Linked DNA regions of Homo sapiens: region 1 is linked to region 2. Evidence: promoter capture Hi-C in 16 types of primary human blood cells and fetal thymus (Javierre and others, 2016). All regions are on one chromosome and are shown on one strand. Each heading gives the region's core, a stretch centred on a gene start or on the middle of the fragment in contact. The rest is flanking DNA. Distances are from core to core; before and after follow the strand shown.

The links. Contacts are between HindIII fragments. The CHiCAGO score rates a contact against its expected background, and 5 or more counts as called.
Region 1: a contact is called between the fragment with the promoter of HTR3E-AS1 here and a fragment that was not itself captured in region 2, in 1 of 17 cell types (M1 macrophages). The highest score is 7.4, in M1 macrophages.

The regions. Positions count from the first base shown.
Region 1 is chr3:184,103,915-184,106,614 of GRCh38, reverse strand. HTR3E-AS1 (HTR3E antisense RNA 1) reads left to right here and starts at 1,437. Exons shown (of 3, transcript NR_133658.1): 1 at 1,437-1,489; 2 at 2,227-2,455. It overlaps HTR3E (5-hydroxytryptamine receptor 3E), which reads right to left. Exons shown (of 9, transcript NM_001256613.2): 4 at 2,324-2,433; 5 at 1,659-1,828; 6 at 1,188-1,348; 7 at 646-850; 8 at 272-487; 9 at 1-151. The HindIII fragment of the contact is 6,162 bases long and covers 1-2,700 here.
Region 2 is chr3:183,921,568-183,924,267 of GRCh38, reverse strand. The region is part of intron 29 of ABCC5 (ATP binding cassette subfamily C member 5); the gene reads left to right. Among named protein-coding and RNA genes, the nearest start is that of MIR4448, 36 kb to the right of the region's middle. The HindIII fragment of the contact is 3,947 bases long and covers 1-2,700 here.

The DNA of each region.
Region 1 (2,700 bases), core at 188-2,687, 180 kb before region 2:
ATCGCGTGGCTGAACTGCAACCACAGCTCCACTGAGTGCTGCTTCTGGGCCTCGTGTTCCCGCTGGGCCCTTGTCCATTCTGAGCCCCCTGTCAGCTCTGCCTCCGCAGGGCCCGGCATCTGCCCTGCTGATACCTCTGGCTCCTTCACACCTACAGAAAGACAGAGACTCAGCCATGGGCTGCAAATGTCACCTGTGGAGGGAGGGAGACAGGGAAGGAGGCAGGAGCAGAGAAGTGGAGGTGGGGGAAGAGGAATGTGACTTCCCTCACCGGGCAGGTGGGTGGGGGTGAGACCCGGGCCCTTATTTTCCTTCTGGGGCGCAGTGGGACAGCATCTCCCCGGGCTGTTGCAGTGGAGCAGCAGGGAGTGGAGCCACCGAGGCAGGGGTGGGGGCTGGGTGGTGGCCACGTGCAGCAGGTGGGTGATGAAGATGGTCTCCAGCAGGCTGCCCACCATCAGGGACAGGCACAGGGCGAAGTAGACACCTGGAGGGAAGGGGGGCCTAGTGAGGGCCAGAGGCACCACCTAGAATTTCTTCTCTTCCAATCCCACCCTGGCAGGCATACGGCCTCCTTTTTCCAAAATACCTCCCTTCCTGAGTTAGTTCCCACCCTTCTCTTCCAAAAGGTGGGAGGAGCCATACCGATGAGGGGGGTGCCACTGGTGGGGAGCAAGTCACTCATCATGAGCAGGAAGACGTTGTAGCCCAGCAGGAGCGTTATCTTGAATGGGACACGATTCCCACTTTTCACTGGCAGGTAGAAGCTGAGGGCATCGATGGCAACCAGAAAGCCACTGGGCACGAGAAGGTTTATGACATAGAGACTGGGCCTGCGCCTGATGGCCACCTGGTGGGGTAGGAGAGGGTGGTAAGTAGTTATGGGGTCAGAGGAACCCTCAAATCCAGGAATAGCAGTGACAATTTCTGTCTCTGCCTTTTTCTTTGGCCTGATATCACCCTGGGATCTGGAGCTGTGGGGAATGCAGCTTTAGAATCTGGTATAGAACCTGCAAAGAGACAGTTAGGCCAGAGCCCTGAGCTTTAGGATGAAGAATGAGGCTGGGAAGCCAGGAGAGAGGGTAACATTGGGAGACCCTGAAACTTGGGAGATACATATTTGATGGACATTCTAGGCAAGGGTAAAAGTGCGGGAGGAAGGAAAGAGTAAGAGCCTCCAAGCTCACATAGAACACGATCTGATCATACAGGTTGCCTCCCCTGGACAACTTTGCGGTGGCCTTGCTGAGGCCCAGGAGCTCCCATTCTCCATGGGTCTGAAGGATGTTCCGGGATGCGTCTGTTATTTCCCACACTTCTTTCTCCATGTCCAGCAACATGCTGTCCACTGAAAATGAGAACCATCTGAATCATTTTTCAAGGAGATAGTTTCCTGGTGGCTCAACTGCACTCTTTTTCCATCCTTTCTTTCAACAAATATTTTTGAGTGCCTCCCACATGCCAGGAAACTTGCCAGGAGCTTGGGATGGTAAGGAACAAGACAGACTTGGGTTCTGCCTTTATGGAAAATATTTTAGCATCCATAGAGCCTTATTCTTCTCCCCACCCATACTCCTTGGTCACCATTTACTCATAGTTTCTTTATATTTGTTGGTTGCTCTCATTCACCCCATCCCTGAGACCTCACTGCAACTTACCTGTGTAGAGGAATGAGCTGAAGGTGAGTGTGCAGTTCTGCTGGTCGAAGGGGAAGTAGAAGATGTCCAGGTTACAGATACTGTCCACCTTCATGGGTTTCTTATACCTGATGCGACCTTCATTACTTACATATGCTGTGAGGCCTTTTGGGGTCTTATCCACATCCATGCTGGAGGAGAGATAACGCAAGAGGCAGGTGCTGCAGTTTCTCTCTCTCTTTTTTTTTTTTTTTTTTTTTTGAGACAGGATCTTGCTCTGTCACCCAGGCTGGAGTAGAGTGGCATGCTCTCAGCTCACTGCAACTTCCATGTCCTGGGCTCAAATGATCCTCCTGTCTCAGCCTCAGCCTCCCAAGTAGCTGGGACTACAGGCGCACCACCAGGCCTGGCTAATTTTTTTTTTTTTTTTTTTTTTAAGAGATGAGGTTTCACCATGTTGCCCAGGCTGGTCTCAAACTCCTGAACTGAAGTGATCCACCCACCTTGGCCTCCCAAAGTGCTGGGATTACAGGCATTAGCCACTGCGCCTGGCTCAGTTTCTCTTCTTATCTCTCTGGTTGTTTCTTAGCCATCTAAAGACCACTTACAGTGGCCCCAATGGTAAACTGTGATCTCTGTGGCTACCAGGAGATGGGACTTCCCTCTGACCAGCCCTTGATACGCACAGTTCAATGATGAAAATGTCTGGGAGCCACAGGTTCTTGGCTGCCATACTCATCTTCGTGATGCCCTCACATTCCTCTGGGTTCCAGCTGATAAATGGGTTATCCCAAACCTAGAGCCCAGGTGGAGGAGAGGTGAGTCTCCTGCCTTTTAATTTCTTCTTTAAAAAAAAAAGTTATGAAATACTTCAAGCATATAGAAAAATATATAAAATGCTGTGACAAACATCTATGTATTTACAACCCAACTTTGTGGCATTAATATTTTATTAAATTTACTTGCTTTTTTTTCAAGAAATGAGAATTATAGATAAAATCGAACCTGCCTGGGACCATTCTTCATAAATTTTGATCAGCCAGCGCTGGTGGTCTGGGAACCA
Region 2 (2,700 bases), core at 30-2,529:
CGGGCAGATTGCCTGAGCTCAGGCGTTCAAGAGCAGCCTGGGCAACATGACGAAACGCCGTCTCTACCAAAAATACAAAAAATTAGCCAGGAGTGGTGGCACACACCTGTAATCCCAGCTACTAAGGAATTTGAGGTGGAAGGATCATTTAACCCTGGGAGGCAGCGGAGGTTGCAGTGAGCTGAGATAGCGCCACTGCACTCCAGCCTGGGTGACAGAGTGAGACCTCATGTCAAAAAAAAAAAAAAAAAAAAAAAGCAAACAGTAAAAATTGGTGGGATTTAAAAAAAAAGGAAGCGGAGGAGATGGGACAGGACTCAGGCCAGCAACCGCACTGCCAGCACACTGTCTAAATTGTGGAGAAATATTGAGAAAAGGTTAAATAGCGCAGGTTCAGCCTGGGCTTCAAAGCTGAATTGAGAGAACTTGGGGGCTAAGGATTTTTCTCCTCATCTTGAAATTATTTTCACACTAGTGTTTTTTGTGACTATCTTTGTTTGCCTTAAACTAAGTGTTGACTGAGATTCTGTCATACATAAGATACGTTGAGCTACTACTTTGTAAGTAGGTGTTAAAATAGAGCCTAGTAAGGTATAATAGATGGGACCAAGAACATCTTCTGGGAAATTCTTTTTTTCTTTTTTTGAGCCAGAGTCTCGCTCTGTCGCCCAGGCTGGAGTACAGTGGTGCAATCTTGGCTCACTGCAACCTTCGCCTCCGGGGTTCAAGCGATTCTCCTGCCTCAGTCTCCTGAGCAGCTGGGAGTACAGGCATGTGCCACCATGCCTGGCTAATTTTTGTATTTTTAGTAGACACAGGGTTTCACCATGTTGGCCAGGCTGGTCTCGAACTTCTGACCTCAGATAATCCGCCCACCTCAGCCTCCCAAAGTGCTGGGATTACAGGCACAAGCTACTGTGCCCAGCTGGAAATTTTTTCTTAAGAACACAAATTGAGACCCCTTTCTTTCGATGGGTGGCTTGATGTTTTGGAGTGGGGAGCCCATTCACTCTTTATGAGGGACTCTATCCTTCTCTTCCCTTAATTTTTTTCTTGCTAATTAAAATTTCCTTGTAATTTCAGGAAAGCCTAAAAAAAAAAAACCACACACACACCAGAAAAGCATAAAGGCAAAAACAGGATGATAAGCCATTTACCCCCAGAGACGAGCATTGTAATACACTGACTTACCCCAGCTGTGTTTTTCTTGCATCTGCACACACAGACTCCAACAGATGGGATGCTCTCTGCCGCAGACACAAAATACCAGACTAAAAGGGGTTTGGAGGATGGGATTTTGTTATCCCACATGGGTTGGTTTTTGTGCAGCTCAGCAGTGTGGGGCTCTGTATCACTCTCAGCCAGTACTCACCTTCCCCTGCTGGTACAGGATGCCTGCTCAAGCACCCAACCAAAGGAAGGACACGTGTCCAAAGGAAGGACACGCTTATGTTCTCCTTGTGGCCTGTCCACTGAGCAGGACACCCTCTCCTAAAGCACCAAGGAGACTTCCTCTTACATCTCCTTAAACAAGGTTATGTTCCATGCCTTTGCCCTGTGGCGGGGGCGGCTGAGAAAGTTGAGTACATGCATTTCAGCCTCTGCCACAGGAGGTGGGTTCTGCCAGCGTATCATTCAGGGTTCTGCTGCCACATGATTTTCCACGGCTACATAGAAGTCCATCATAGGAATGGCCACCTGACTAAGTCACTCCCTGACTTCCTTTTTCTCCCCTGACAACTAGACATTCTGAGCTCTTCCATTTCCCTCTATAAGGTTAGATCAGCTTGCATAACAAAATGGCATTTGTCTGGTGTGCCCTTGACTTGAGCTGCAACTTCTCTCCCCTGCAGTTTATTTATTTTATTTTGTTTATTTATTTATTTATTTTTTTGAGACGGAGTTTCGCTCTTGTTGCCCAGGCTGGGAGTGCAATAGCACGATCTCTGCTCACCACAACCTCCGCCTCCCGGGTTCCAGCGATTCTCCTGCCTCAGACTCCCCAGTAGCTGGGATTACAGGCATGCACCACCACACCCAGCTAATTTTTGTATTTTCACTAGAGACAGGGTTTCACCATGTTGGTCAGGCTGGTCTCGAACTCCTGACCTCAGGTGATCCGCCTGCCTCGACCTCCCAAAGTGCTGGGATTACAGGCATCAACCACCGCACCCAGCCTGTTGTTTTTTATTTATTTATTTATTTATTTATTTATTTATTTATTTATTTATTATTTTGAGGCAGAGTCTCGTTGTGTCGCCCAGCCTGGCATGCAGTGGTACAATCTCAGTTCACTGCAACCTCCACCTCCTGGGTTCAAGCGATTCTCCTGCCTCAGCCTCCCAAGTCACTGGGATTGTAGGCACCCGCCAACCATGCCCAGCTAATTTTTGTATATTTAGTAGAGACAGGGTTTCACCATGTTGGCCAGGCTGGTCTTGAACTCCTCACCTCAGGCAGTCTGCCCACCTCAGCCTCCCAAAGTGTTGAGATTACAGGCGTGAGCCACCAGCCTCCTGCAGTTTATAGACCTGGTTGGTTGGTTCCTTCACTCCCAAGGCTGAAGGAATTTGGATTTATGTGAAGGAGGTCTGGAAGTCGTTTTCTTTTTTTTTTTTTGCTATGATACTACTTTATTAGGCAAAACCACATACTACAAAAATGCTGGAAGTCATTTTCTCTGTCCTTTCCCTTACTCCC